2 separate regions of the Homo sapiens genome follow, and region 2 is linked to region 1. The links are contacts of gene promoters, found by promoter capture Hi-C in human tissues and cell types (Jung and others, 2019). All regions are on one chromosome and are shown on one strand. The core of a region is centred on a gene start or on the middle of the fragment in contact, and the rest is flanking DNA. Distances in the headings are between cores, read along the strand shown.

Region 1 (7,535 bases), core at 2,676-5,175:
GCAACCTCCGCCTCCCGGGTTCAAGTGATTCTCCTGACTCAGCCTCCTGAGTAGCTGGGATTACAGAAACAGACATATGCCACCACGCTCAGCTAATTTTTGTGTTTTTGGTAAAGATGGGGTCTCACCATGTTGGCCAGGCTGGTCTCAAACTCCTGACCTCAGGTGATCCGCCCGCCTCAGCCTCCCAAAGTGCTGGGATTACAGGTGTGAGCCACCATGTCCCACCTACAAATCACATCAATTGAGAACCATGGTCTTCAAAGTTACACATTATTTGCCATTATTGTTCTTTTTAAATCATAATGCATCTGAGTTGTTTGAAGAGGGGCCTAATTTTTGGCAAAACAGTCAAGTCATCTGGAGCCAAGACAGGTAAATTAGGCAGACAGATGGTCTAGTTTAAAAAAATTAGGTGGAGTCTATAACGTAGATGATGTGGAATGGCTGTGACAGCAGCAGCATCCCTGAAGCAAAAAAAGCAGTCTCTAGAGGTGACTTTTGGCCAGGAGGCACCAGCCTGCAAGGCTCTGCCCAGGATTCCTCCCCAGGGCCTTAAGTCAGCCACAAGTGGCTTCCACCAAGGAACTCCCCAAGCCATTCAGAAGTCCCAGGTGAGTGCCCCCATTTGCGTGTGTACTTTAAAATAAAATCCTAAAGCTCTTAGAATTTGAATGCATCTTAAGGACAACTTCACCTCTTAAATTCTTACATAGGTTGAATGGATCCCGATAAAGTTAACCTTTACAACTACTCTTTTTTTTTTTTTTTTTTTTTGAGATAAGAGTCTTGCTCTGTTGCCCAGGCTGGAGTGCAGCAGCACAATCTCGGCTCACTGCAACCTCCACCTTCTAGGTTCGAGCGGTTCTCCTGTCTCAGCCTCCCTAGTAGCCAGGACTACGGCGTGTGCCACCATGCCTGGCTAATTTTTTGTATTTTTAGTAGAGACAGGGTTTCACTGTGTTAGTCAGGATGGTCTCAATCTCCTGACCTCGTGATTCTCCCGCCTTGGTCACCCAAAGTGCTGGGATTACAGGCGTGAGCCACCGCTCCCAGCCACAACTACTCTTAAATAGGCAGTATTTTCTTATGCAGGCAAACATTCCTGTTTTAATCATCCTCCTATCACTAATTTAAATAACAGGTCCTGGCCTGGCGAGATGGCTCACGCCTGTAATCCCAGCACTCTGGGAGGCTGAGGCGGGTGGATCACCTGAGGTCAGGAGTTCGAGACCAGCCTGGCCAACATCGTGAAAACCCGTCTCTACTAAAAATACAAAAATTAGCCGGGCGTGGTGGCACGGGCCTGTAATTCCTGCTACTTGGGAGGCAGAGACAGGAGAATTGCTTGAATCCGGGAGGCAGAGGTTGCAGTGAGCCGAGATCGCACCACTGCCACTCCAGCCTAGGGGACAGAACGAGACTCCGTCTCAAAAAAAAAAAAAGGTCTGGGTTACCCTAACATATCAATTCATCCTCAATTTATTCTCTCCGTAGATTGTTTTTTAATAAAAACAAAACAAAGCATGATTCCTGGCATATGGGAATTTCAAAGGATAGCAACTGTGTGGAAAAGGTCTATTCCACTAAAACAGCATAAATGACGTATAAACCCAAGAAGCTGATGACTGCATATGAAACAACCAAACCAAGAAGCAAAATATGGTCTATGGAGCACAGTACTAACCCGGGAAAACAAGCTTTACTCCTGGCTCGATTATACACCTGCTGTATTTTAATTTTTAACTCAATGTTGAGCTTATTTAAATAAATAAAACATGCTACTTAACCACAATTTCAAAAGGAAAACAAAGTCACAAAAGAATGCAATAAATTACACAATTGGACTAACATATTAGATAATTAAAGGTGATTCTATTCCCAAGTCTAACTATCAATCAACGCTACTGCATTTAGTTACTCTATGCAATTTTATTGAGGAAGAGGGGTGGCAGGAATATTTTGCAGGGTTCCAAAAGGAGACATAGAAAGCGTGCCTACGAAGAGGACTGCAGTGAGGAGCTACACATTGAGATTACATACAGTGGACTGGACAACTTTGGTTAGGACCAGGCTGTTTAATTTCTTCATAAACTTAACATAGCTTCCTTCCTAAAAACAGGTTAATCCAGACTTTCTTCTCTCCAAAACAACCCGAACTGATACATTAACTGCTGCAATGAACTATATTAAGGCACTAGAATATTTACGGAAAAGCAAAAGACTCCCGCAATTCAACGGGATGCTTTTTAGTGAAGAAAGAAAACTTAAGGACCGAATAAATTTAAATATATGCCTTGTTTAACTTCCTTTCCCACCTATGAGGACTTGGTTTTTAACTTTCCTAGTTGATCGAAACTCAAAGTATGAAGACTACGTATGCGAATGTTTACTTAACGCTGAACTCGGGGCTACAGGAAGTCTCCTACTAAACAGTAGTTACATTAGGCGTAGATATTTATAAACCATCTGCAGCAAGTGACCCAGGATTCAATTACAACATCAACCCTCATATTTCATCGCATGGGCAAATTACCAGTCGAGTCAAGAATAAACTCATTCTGCCCTACTGGCGCTCTAGATCGAGTTGCACAATCCTGGGGCAGAACCGCCTTCACCTAGCCCTAGAGCATCAGGTACTAAGTTAGTGTGAGGACATTTTAAAGCGGGAGGGAAACTCAAGGGACTTAGCCCATACTCCCAAATTCAGAAATTTGTCACGTCACTTGAGATCAGAATGAAATTTAAGTTTCAGTCCCTTTGAGATCTCTGAGCGCACAAAGTCAGGCTGCTATCACTCGGCTGGGGAGTCCGAACCCGGCTGGATAAAAACTACTTGGTGCGGAACTCGCATCTTTTCCGCCCACCGTGGGGGGGCCGCACCGGTCGGGTCCGGCCAGGAACCCGGGCGCGAGTTTGGGGGCGCAGCGGGGGCGGCGAGCGCGCGTCCCCCCGCCCGCTCAGGCAGCGTAGAGGTGCGAGCAGCTCAGCCAGCCTTGCAGAGGGAGCTCTCGGCAGCTCTGGGGTCCCTCTGCTCGCAGCCGCTGCAGCGCCGCCTGCGCCACTCGGCGGAGACGGAGACCAGCGGCGGCGACGCGCGGACTGGGAGCGACCGCCGAGCAGCCAAGCAGCTGGGAAGGCACGCAGGCCGGCAGGGTAGGTTCCGGGGACGGGGCTGGCTGGAGGAGGGGCAGCCCGAGACGCGACGGCCAGGGCCCGACACCCATACGGCACCGGGACCTGGCTTAGCGCGCGGCGGCAGTCGGTCCGAACCCTTAAGCTAGGCGGGCGCCGAAGCCGGGACGCGGAGATAGTGTCTCAGCTGGGGCCACCCGCCGCGGGAGGGGCGGAGGACACAGGACAGAGGGCGGGCCGCGGCCGGGCGATCGGCCGGCCAAGAACCGGCCTCGAGGGCAGACAAAGGAAGGAAAATGGAGTCGCCGGGCGCGCGGGCCTCTGCCTCTGCCGCCGCCCGAGGCCTAGCGCGCTGCCAGGAGGGAGGCCTAGCGGGCGGGCGGGCGGGCGGGCGTGGGGGTGGGGGGGGCGGCCGGGCCACGGCGGCGACGGGCAATGGCGGCGGCCGCGCCGCAGCAGGGACGGTAGAGGGAGACAAACACCCCCCGGCGGCGGCGCTGGCGCCGGGCTGCAGCCAGCGCCGACCGGAGCGGCCCCATCGTGACACCTAGAGGCGGCCCGCGAAACCTCCTCCACCCCGGGCCCCCTTACCTCCGCGCCACACCCCCCGCGGCGCCCGCTCCGCCGCCGCTCCACGGCTCCGGCCACCCGGCGTCTCCGGCGAGCTCCGCGCGTCCGCACCGGCCACCGCCGCCGCCGCTGCCGCCAAAGAAGCAGCTCCGCGCACGGTTTAATCGCTCCACAGGCTCAGACACAAAATGGCGGCGGCGCGGTGCAGTGCGCCTGCGTCGGCGCTGCCGGGGCCGCGGGTGCTGATAAGGGAAGGGACGGGTGGGGGGACCGGCCGGGCGGCGAGTAGAGGGCGGGGGAGGAAAGGTGAGGGGAGGGGTTGGCGCAGGGCAGCATGGGAGGCGGCCCCGGGCGCCAACTTTCAAAAGCGGGCGCGATGGCGTCACGGGACGCGCCGCGAGTCGCGTCGTCACGCCGCACGCGCCCTCGCCGGGTCGCTCGTGGGCTCTGCCGGCGCCGCGGCGTCCTGGCTCCCGCTGGGTGGGGCTTCCTGGGCGGAGGCCGCCGCCCCTGGGCGGTGCCGGATCCAGTCCGCTTGACCTTATTCCCTAGCTGCTGTCTCCGGCCCCCTGAACCCGTACAGGGTTGGGGAAGTGGGGGTGGCTGGAGGAAGCGCGCGCGGGGCAAGCCAGTGGGGCTGAGGAGGCTCCCGGGCCCGGCCCCGCCCAGTCTCCGCCCCAGCCAGGCCCGACCCGCCCTCCGAATGTCTTACAGCTGCCCGCCCCAGAGTAAGGCCCGGTCGGTTCCCGCGCGCTCCCAGCTCCGTGCCCGCGAGCGACGACTGGAAGGGCTGTCCTTGCTCAGCGGCTTTTGGTGATCTCTCCGCCCTAGAAGAGGGCCACCTAAAAGCGGGTGCGAGAGGAGAGTGGGAGGGCCTCCTCTTGGTGTCCCCAGGCCACCTCAGCCCGGAGAGGTGGCGGAAAACCAGACTTGATGCTTTAACACGTTCATAGCAATCGCTTTTTACTGAAAGGAGTTTCTGTATTTAGCGCTGTGTAATTCTGTGGAAACGTGCATTTCTTGTCTTTGCGGGAGAGCTGTTCTCTGTGGGCGGAGACCTTCAGTCCCACCCCTCCCCAGGAGGCGCCTGCGGACCCTTCCCAACCTGCAGTCAAGTTGACCAAGAACTGACTGCAAGGTGCTGGTGGCTCTGGGATGAGAGCCTTTTGGTACTTACAGGGAATATGACTCTTCCCTTAGATATCAAATGGACCCAATATCTAGGGAGCAGCTTCTTCTCCATCCATCTGACCGTTCCGTTGTGAGAATGCTGGCCCAATAACATACTCTTTTTTTTTCCCCTAAAGGAATAAAAAAATCTGTATTTTTAAGATGTCAAATCTCCAGAGTTTTTAGATGTTAGCAACTGAATCAGATGTTTTTAAACTTCATGAGCTGATTAAACCACACAGATGAGCTGTCAGTTTACGACCCCTGGCTTGGCTTGGAGGAAAGAGTGAAGAGAAATTCCATGGCCAAATCCTGGGGCACTCCAATATTGGGAGGGTAATGGAGAAGGAGTCTGAAAGGCAGCATCTAGGAAGTCATGAAAGCTAGCGCTGAGTTGTGGAATCCCTGGGCAGAGAAGGTTTCAGGTAGGAGGCATCAGCTGAGCGGTGTGATAAACTTGGGCCAGAGATGTGGCTATTGGATTGGGTCACCTTGCAAGTCACTGGAGAATGTCACTGATGGCCTTGGCTTGATTCACGTGAGTATATCAGGGAGGTGGACCTGACCGGAATGGGTTAAACAGTCACCAGGAAAGTGAGGAAATGGAGACAGCACATGTATGCAATTTGAGAGAGGTTTTGCTGTGAAGGGACCAGATAAGTTTGGGGATAGATATAGAAAGAAATCTTTTAAAAGATAGTAGGGGCCGGGCGCAGTGGCTCACGCCTGTTATCCTAGCACTTTGGGAGGCCAAGGCAGGTGGATCACCTGAGGTCAGGAGTTCGAGACCAGCCTGGCCAATATGGTGAAACCCGGTCTCTACTAAAAATACAAAAATTAGTTGGGCATGGTATCGCGCGCCTGTAATCCAAGCTACTGGGGAGGCTGAGGCAGGAGAATTGCTTGAACCCGGGAGGCAGAGGTTGCAGAGAGCCAAGATTGGGCCACAGCACTCCAGCCTGGGCAACAAAGCGGGACTCCATCTCAAAAAATAATAATAAATAAAATAAAAGATGGTAGGGTTCCCAGAGCATGTTTATGTGCCATTGGGAGGGATATGGTGGGGAAGAAAGATGGGTGATCCAGGAGAGAGGAGGCTTGCTTGACCTATATAGGAGTGAAATCCATCAGAAGATATAAGGAAACAGGGAGGGTTGACCTTGGAGAGGAACAGGGATGCTTCCATTCATGATAAGGGCAACAAAGGTGAAGACAGATGCAAGTGCAGGGGAGAGGGAAGGCAAGTCCTTAACAGGATTGCCTTGGTGGCATTGGGTACTCATCTGAGGTTTGTGATCATGATGTTAAAGGTAAACCAGTTGGCCCAGTGTGTTGGTTTTTCTCCAACATTCAGCTGCTTGGGTACAGACATGAAGAAAAGGGATAGTACAGCTTCTCAACACCAGGACCCAATTTTTCTCATTTCTTTTTTTTTTTTTTGAGACGGAGTTTTGCTCTTATCGCCCAGGCTGGAGTGCAATGGTGTGATCTCAGCTCACCACAACCTCTGCCTCCTGGGTTCAAGCGATTCTCCTGCCTCAACCTCCTGAGTAGCTGGGATTACAGGCATGCGCTACCACCCCCGACTAATTTTGTATTTTTAGTAGAGATGGGGTTTCTCCATGTTGGTCAGGCTGGTCTTGAACTCCCAACCTCAGGTGATCCGCCCGCCTCGGCCTCCCAAAGTGCTGGGATTACAGGAGCGACTCACCGCGCCCGGCAAGTTTTCTCATGTCTAATCCCAGTTACTTACCTTATACAATTAGATACTATTTTAGAAATGTGTGAAGTATTTGAAAAATTTACACGTGACCCTTCTTTTTCTAGAAACCAAGTTATCCCATTTGCCTCTTATGTACACATTAGGACTCAGACATAAAGAAAAGACAAACTCAGAGGAAAATTACCAAACAGATGCTTCTGGAATATTTGCATTTTGCATTCTCCTCAGCCCAAATAGTTCCTGGTATACTTAAGAACTTATGTACTAGAAACAACAAAGCTGACATGCACATAGGGAGACCTTGTTTATACAAAAAATTTAAAAATTAGCTGAGTGTGGTGGCGTATGACTGTAGTCCCAGCTACTTGGGAGGCTGAGGTGGGAAGATCGCTTGAGCCCAGGAGGTCGAGACTACAGGGAGCCATGTGTGTGCCACTGTACTCCAGCCTGGGTGATGAAGCAAGACCCTGTCTCAAAAAAATAAAAAATAGGCCAGGCACAGTGGCTCATGCCTGTAATCCCAGCACTTTGGGAGGCCAAGGTAGGTGGATTACTTGAGCCCAGGAGTTTGAGACTAGCCTGGGTAACATGGCAAAAGCCCATCTCTACAAAAAATTAGCTGAACATGGTGGTGTGTACCTGTAGTCCCAGATACTTGGGAGGCTGAGGCAGGAGCATCACTTGAGCCCAGGAGGTTGAAGCTGCAGTGAACCCCGATTGCACCACTACATTCCAGCCTGAGTGACAGAGCAAGACATTGTCTCAAAAATAAAAAAAAAATTAAAAGCTGACTTGCATTTAAACTTTAGATTTTCTTTCTAGTAACATTAATAAGCTAATTAGTTCACTTTCTCAAGATTTTACTTCAAATCACCTTCCTTTTTTTTTGTTTTTTGTTTTCTTTTTGTGGAGATGAGGTCTCACTGTGTTGCCCAGG
Region 2 (7,535 bases), core at 1,702-4,201, 260 kb before region 1:
GCCCTCATCCCTGTCACCTCTGGACCTGCAGAGGACTCTGGATCTGAAGACCATGCTGGGCCAGAGTGGCTGGTGAGATCTGACCTGCTCCTCAGCAAGACGTTCCTTCCAGGCATCCTTGAGGAGGTTGACCACGTCCTTCTTGCTTGGCTTCTTGTTCTCCACGAGGCCATCAAACCGAAGAAAAGCAGGGATGGCTTCCCCATAGCCCTAGGAGGGAGGATATCAGCTCATCTCTGGACCCATCTGTGGCCCCACCCCCAATCAGGGAAGATCCCCAGTTGGTTCCCCAAAAGCTTGTCTGAGCAGCAGGGCATGGCTGTTCTGACTCTGGCCCAAGCCCCACTCCTGGGGCCTCCCCTACCAGACCAGGGAAGAAGTCTTTCTCCCGCAGCAGCCCCGAACCAATCTCTTCCAGGAGCACGTCCACCAGCTGGTCGCTGTTCTTGCCCTCAGCCAGCATCTGCCAGCGCTCTGGGCCCCCAGCCACCACATCTGCATGTGGGGAGAGGGAGCTGGAGTCTGGGCCCACATGTAAGCAGGACCTGGGGCCCTGCCGGCTGCCCTCACCTTTGCACTTGGTCCAGTCAGGCCGCGGCGTGGAAGTGCGCTGGATCTCCTGCAGCTCAGAGAAGAATTGGTCCCGTTCCTTCAGCGTGCTCATGTGCAGCTGCATGAGGATCTCATGCTCCTTGCGAACCTCCTCGTAGCTGGCTCTCAGGGTGTCCAGCTGTGGGCAAGGACATTGGCCCTGGCCCCCCACCTGTGAGACCCCGTCCTACCCTCCTGGCCCTGCCTGCCTGCCAGCACCTGCTCCTGAAGATCCTTGTTGGTCTTCTCCTGCATTTCAAAGTCCCTCCTGGGGACCACATCTCCAAAGTTGGCCTTCATGTTGTTGAGTTCCATCTGCGTGCGGGTCAGGTCTTGCCGGGTCATCTTAAGAGCCAGGGTTAACTTCACAGGGTCCTCCCCCCAGATGCCTGCCAGGGGAAGGGGCCCACCAGCCCGTGTCACCGTGGCTTTCTCAGGGGTTGCCTGAAGCCCTCTGCCCTTCCTGTTTGGGGTTCCCTGGTTCTTGCCCACAGCACTACCAGCCTAGGGTTTCAGGCTAAAGTCTAGAAGCCCAGGAAACTGAGTACCAGGCCTGTCCAGCCCACTGGGAGCCTAGGCTGCCTCAGCTACCAACTGTGTTCCTACAATTCTCAGTTCAACTCAGAAGATACACAGCCCTGCGGGAGGCAGGGACATCTCCCCTCTGAATGGTTATGGAATGAGCAGGTCTTAGGAATGCTGAATGAATGGGGCTTAGGGGTGAGACCAGAGTCTTCCAGCGTCTCAGAGAAGAGAGAAACCCGATTCCCAATTCAGGCTTACCTGGCGACTGGGCTAATGACATGTCCTCCCGCTGGTACCGCAGCTCATTCAGGTCTGCGATGAGGATCTTACAGGCATCTCGCTCACTGAGGTAGTGCAGGTACTCCTCAGCCAAGTTCTTCCTCAGTTTGGTCACCTGGCAAGAAGGTGGCTGTGTGGTCAGGGGCTGCCCCTGGACCCCTGTATGCAGCTGGTCACCCCAGGGAGTGGGCTGGGTTCTGGGGGGCCCCATCAGGGACTGTGAACAGGAAAGGTGAAAGAAGAAGGAGATTGGCCATTTCTGAGAATTCGGCAAGGTGCCAATGTTTCCCCCTGTGGGGAAAGTACTGAGCCTAGCAGCAGGGCAGAGGGTGGAGTTAGCAAGGCTCTGGGGGAAGGTGGTGGCTCAGTGTGTCACTCTCCGTAGAAAGGCAGAGCAGGGTAGGGGGTCACCCTTGTCGTGGAGTTGGCAGGAATTCGGGGACTTGGTCATCATCACACCACTTCCATTCACCTCGCTCTGCAATGAAATCTTCTCCTCATTCTTTTTGTCGATGAGTTTTAGCAAGTTCATCTTCTCTTTCTTGAGCAGGGAGATTTCATATTTCTCCTCAGCTCTCATGGCCAGGATCCTCTCATTGCAGTCCTCATTCACAGTGACAAGCTTGGCCTTCAGGGGCTCCAGAGCCCGAATCTTCTCCCTTTGGTGGGCTAAGCAGAGACAGGTGGGAGAGCTGCTTTGGGGCCATGGAGAACAAACAGCCAGAAGACACCCTAAGGTCATGGGTGAGTGGCTATGTCGCTTGCAAACCCCAAGAATCTCTGCATGCCTTGTTCAAAGCCATGGTCCCTGTTTCAGGCCTTCCTGCACTTGATTTTAAACAAAGGGCAGAGTTCAGATGAAGACCGGGGTCTCTCCTATGTCCTTTCCCCTACAGCCTTAAGTCCTGCAGCTGCACCATGCCCTGCACCTCCTGAGCCTGGCAGGGGAGCCTGCTGACTCCCAGAGGTGCTGACTCTCTCCTGGGGTTCACTCCATTTTCAACAGGGACTGCCCCCCTGTGCTTCTCAATGACAGGTGTTGTCAGGTGCTCTGGGGTGCCCTATCATGGAACAGTCTGTGCAGAATGGCTGAGGGGCCTTGGTGACCTCAAGGCCCAGTTGGTAGCTGCCCCAGCCCTGCTGTGGAGCACCAGAAGGTCGAATAGGATCTTCTCCACCCCTTCCAGGCTGGGACAAGGAGGGGAGCTGCATTCTTTTTTTTTTTTTTTTTTTGCGATGGAGTCTTGTTCTTTTGCCCAGGCTGGAGTGCGGTGGTGTGATCTCAACTCACTGCAACCTCCACCTCCTAGGTTCAAGCAATTCTCCTGCCTCAGTCTCCCAAGTAGCTGGGATTACAGGTGTGTGCCACCATGCGCAGCTAATTTTTTTGTGTTTTTACTAGAGACAGGGTTTCACCATGTTGGCCAGGCTGGTCTCAAACTCCTGACCTCAAGTGATCTACCGCCTCGGCCTCCTAAAGTGCTGGGATTACAGGCGTGAGCCACTACGCCTGGCAGGAGGTGCATTCTTACCCAGCATCCCCTCATACGCATTCTTGATGGAGGATAGTAATGGCTTGTACGTTTTGAAGTCCTCTATGAAGAACTCAAAGATCTCTCTGTAAGGCTGGCAAGAAAAGGGAACCCATCATCTCCTAGCCCACAGCTGCCAACCTTAGTGGGGAACTGTTTTTCTTTTTCTTTTTTCCTGAGACGGAGTGTCGCTCCATCACCCAGGCTGGAGTGCTGTGGTGCAATCTCAGCTCACTGCAACCTCTGCCTCCCAGGTTCAAGTGATTCTCCTGCCTCAGCCTCCTGAGTAGCTGGGATTACAGGCACGCGCCACCACACCTGGCTAATTTTTGTATTTTTAGTAGAGATGAGGTTTCACCATGTTGGCCTGGATGGTCTCGATCTCCTGACCTCGTGATCCACCCACCTCGGCCTCCCAGAGTGCTGGGATTACAGGTGTGAGCCACTGTGCCTGGCACTGTTTTTTTCTTTACTGGGCTTAGCAGTATTCCAGCATGAGGCTGCCAGGTCACTTATATTCAAGTAAATGCCCTAGATACCACCCGGGTACCTCACAGTGCCACGGAGCCTGGGGGGCAGCTCTCTGGAGGCCTGTCCTGATGCTGTCTCTGAGGCCTAGTGGACTGCCATGACCATAGACAGACATCCACTCTGTGCCTGAGCCCCTCTCTGGCTCTCCAGGCAGCCAGCCTCTTGCCTTCTAGACACTGCATCATTGGCCTCTCACTTGTAACCTCTCCCCATCTTAGAGCCTGGTAGATTCAGGAGATTGAAGGTTGTACCCTTGCATCCTGACATGCAAGTAGGGGTGTGGTCTTCTGTCCCATTTGGACACATGGGAGGTTTCTGGAGGCAGCATTGCTCACTGAAATGAGCACAGTCTCCAGAGTCAGCCCTGAGTTTGAAGCCCAGCCCCACTACGCCATAGTGGTATGCTTTCTTCCTTATCTGTTCAGGAGATCGATGTAAGGCCCCAGCCCAGGGCCTTGCACTTGCACATAGCCAGTGCTCAGTAAATGCTTTAGTCAATGACTAAGTCAAAAGGCAGGGATTCTCTGTCATCATCCTTGTTTAAGCAGATTTGGTGATTCTCTCCCTACTATACACTGGTATCTGGGTTGGATCTGATCTCTCTCTCTCTCTCTCTCTCTCTTCCTCCCTCCCTCCTTATGCATCTGTGCTGGTTCCTTAAGCTTGGGGTTGTTGCCACTGGACTGGTAAACACGGTGTGACCCCTGCTTGCCCAACTGCCAGCATTCAGGCTACGTTCACTGATGTCCAGTGGCCCAACCTGGGTACTGGGGATCACAGAGCTGCAGGGACTGGGCACAGCATCCAGGCCACCTGACTCAGGTGAGGAAACTCCAGCCTCAGGAGACTTTTGGATCCACATTGCAGCCTTGCCTGCTCACTGGCGTTTTCTTTTTTTTTTTTTTTTTTTGAGATGGAGTCTCACTCTGTTGCCCAGGCTGGAGTGCAGTGGCGTGAACTTGGCTCACTGCAAGCTCCGCCTCCCAGGTTCATGCCATTCTCCTGCCTCAGCCTCCCGAGCAGCTGGGACTACAGGTGCCTGCCACCACACCTGGCTAATTTTTTTGTATTTTTAGTAGAGACGGGGTTTCACCATGTTAGCCAGGATGGTCTCGATCTCCTGACCTGGTGATCCGCCTGCCTCGGCCTCCCAAACTGCTGGGATTACAGGTGTGAGCCACCGTGCCTGGCCTTCTTTTTTCTGTTGACAGAGTCTCACTCTGTTGCCCAGGCTGTAGTGCAGTGGCATGATCTCGGCTCACTGCAACCTCTGCCGCCTGGGTTCAAGCAATTCTCCTGCCTCAGCCTCCTGAGTAGCTGGGACTACAGGTGTGTACCACCACTGCAGGTTTTGTATTTTTAGTAGAGGCAGGGTTTCACCATGTTGACCAGGCTGGTCTTGAACTCCTGACCTCAAGCGATCCTCCTGCCTCAGCCTCCCGAAGTGCTGGGATTACAGGCATGAGCCACTGTGCCCGGCCTCACTGGCATTTTCATGGGATGTTTCATGCTTCTGTTCAGGGAAGGAGACCCAGGAGAGCTGGGAGAGGTGGGTCTCCCCTGAAGGTCTGAGGTGCTCAGTCCTTGTAGGTGAGGCTTTTTTTTGTTTTTGAGACGGAGTCTCACTCTTGTCGCCCAGGTTGGAGTGCAGTGGTGTGATCTTGTCTCACTGCAACCGCTGCCTCCCGGGTTCAGGGTTCAAGCGATTCTCCTGCCTCAGCCTCCTGAGTAGCTGGGACTACAGGTGCCCACTACCATGCCTGGCTAATTTTTGTACTTTTAGTAGAGACGGGGTTTCGCCATGTTGGCCAGGCTGGTCTTGAACTCCTGACCTCAGGTGGTCCACCCGCCTTGGCCTCCCAAAGTGCTGAGATTACAGGCGTGAGCCACTGTGCCCGGCCGGTAGGTGAAGCTTCTTCCCACCCTTCCCCCGCCCTCCCCAAGTTTCTTCTGTGGCTCTGACCTGCAGCCTTAGTTCCTGGGTGGAATCTGTGCCCAGGTCCAGCAGGAGGAGCTCCTTGCGTAGGTAGTTTTCCAGTTCCTCCAAGTACTGGGGCTTGGCAGTGCGAAAGGGGTGCTGCTGGCAGCTCCTGCAGGGGACAGTGGCTGATATGTGGCCAGCACCCCCACGGGGCCCTTGTGCCCTCAGTCTGGGGCAACACACGCCCCTGCCCTGTCTCCTGGCCCAAAGCCTGGCCCATGCCAGCTCACCCACCATGGGACTGACCCTGGCTTACCCTACTCGCTTCCGGTAGTCATCTGAACAGGGTTTTCGATTTTGCAAAATGGTCTGGCCACTGGTGTATGTGGGCCATGGGGACAGGTGCCCACCCATGGAGAACTGACCAGTCTGCAGGGAGGTACAGGTGGGGTTGCCATGGCAACATTGCTCCCCTTCCTAATGTTTCTCTCCATCTCTCCTCCCCCAGTCCTGACTTTTTTTTTTTGAGACAGTCTTGCTCTGTTGCCCAGGCTGGAGTGTGGTGGCACGATCTTGGCTCACTGCAACCTTCGCCTCCCAGGTTCAAGCTGTTCTCTGCCTCAGCCTCCCGAATAGTTGAGATTACAAGCACCCACCACCACACCCATCTAATTTTTGTATTTTTAGTAGAGACGTGGTTTCACCATCTTGGCCAGGCTGGTCTTGAACTCTTAACCTCGTGATCCACCCACTTTGGCCTCCCAAAGTGCTGGGATTACAGGCGTGAACCACTGTGCCTGGCCAGCCCTGATGTGTTTTACAAACATCTCTCAACATGGTTCATAATTAAGACTGTGGGTTCTTGAGTTAGAGAAGACTCGGGTTAAGTCTCAAATGTCCCTTATTAGCTATGTCACAACTTCTCTGAGCCTTAGTTCTCACGTCTGTAAAATAGGGATGATGGTAGTCTTTGTCACAGTGTATTGATGTGAGGATGCAGTGAGAAAGCATAGTCGGGCGCGGTGGCTCACGCCTGTAATTCCCAGCACTTTCGGAGGCTGAGGTGGGTGGATCACGAGGTCAGGAGATCGAGACTATCCTGGCTAACACGGTGAAACCCCGTCTCTACTAAAAATACAAAAAAAAATTAGGCCGGGCATGGTGGCTCACGCCTGTAATCCCAGCACTTTGCAAGGCCAAGGCGGATGGATCACGAGGTCAGGAGATCGAGACCATCCTGGTTAACACAGTGAAACCCCGTCTCTACTAAAAATACAAAAAATTAGCCGGGCGTGGTGTCGGACACCTGTAGTCCCAGCTACTCTGGAGGCTGAGGCAGGAGAATGGCATGAACCCAGGAGGCGGAGTTTGCAGTGAGCCAAGATTGCGCCACTGCACTCCAGCCTGGCGACAGAGCGAGACTCAGTCTCAAAAAAAAAAAAAAAAAAAAAATTTAGCCAGGTGTGGTGGCATGTGCTTATAGTCCCAGCTACTCAGGAGGCTGAGGCAGGAGAATCCCTTGAACCCGGGAAGCGGAGGTTGCGGTGAGCTGAGATTGCACCATTGCACTCCAGCCTGGACAACAAGAACAAAACTCTGTCTCAAAAAAAAAAAAAAAAAAAGAGGGAAAGCATAATGTGTGCTTCACATGGACCCTGGTACTTGCTAGGAACTCAGTAAAGATTAGCTATTCTGGCCGGGCACAGTGGCTCATGCCCGTAATCCCAGCAGTTTGGGAGGCCAAGATGTGCGACTTTTAGCACTTTGAGGCCAAGGTGGGCAGATCACTTGAGGTCAGGAATTTGAGACCAGCCTGGCCAACATGGTGAAACTCCATCTCTACTAAAAATACAAAAATTAGCCGGGCATGGTGGCACACGCCTGTATTCCCAGTTACTCGGGAGGCTGAGGCAGGAGAATCGCTTGAACTCGGGAGGCAGAGGTTGCAGTGAGCTGGGATCGACCCCTTGCACTCCAGCCACGGGGACAAGAGTGAAACTCCATCTCAAAAAAAAAAAAAAAAGACTATCAAAATGGATGTAATTATTTATGTATGTATGTTTATATGTATGTATTTATTTATTTATTTGAGATGGAGTTGCCAAGCTGGAGTTGCCCAAGCTGGAGTGCAGTACAGTAGCACGATCTCTGCTCAC

The links. Contacts are between HindIII fragments. The study calls those that stand out against the background at their distance.
Region 2: a fragment that was not itself captured here is called in contact with the fragment with the promoter of CTCF in region 1 in 1 of the 25 tissues and cell types used here (spleen).

Annotation. Positions count from the first base shown.
Region 1 is chr16:67,558,916-67,566,450 of GRCh38, reverse strand. CTCF (CCCTC-binding factor) reads right to left here and starts at 3,925. Exons shown (of 12, transcript NM_006565.4): 1 at 3,727-3,925. CTCF-DT (CTCF divergent transcript) reads left to right here and starts at 4,142. Exons shown (of 1, transcript NR_158165.1): 1 at 4,142-5,040. LOC124903703 (a long non-coding RNA gene) reads left to right here and starts at 3,001. Exons shown (of 2, transcript XR_007065094.1): 1 at 3,001-3,156. RefSeq lists silencers at 2,854-2,953, 3,474-4,483 and enhancers at 2,707-3,569, 4,714-4,763, 4,784-4,833. The HindIII fragment of the contact is 9,573 bases long and covers 1-7,535 here.
Region 2 is chr16:67,819,112-67,826,646 of GRCh38, reverse strand. It overlaps TSNAXIP1 (translin associated factor X interacting protein 1), which reads right to left. Exons shown (of 16, transcript NM_001288990.3): 3 at 5,696-5,808; 4 at 5,422-5,548; 5 at 2,928-3,021; 6 at 1,868-2,064; 7 at 1,375-1,510; 8 at 811-980; 9 at 571-730; 10 at 365-495; 11 at 85-210. Among named protein-coding and RNA genes, the nearest start is that of TSNAXIP1, 16 kb to the right of the region's middle. RefSeq lists an enhancer at 297-1,157. The HindIII fragment of the contact is 3,588 bases long and covers 1,158-4,745 here.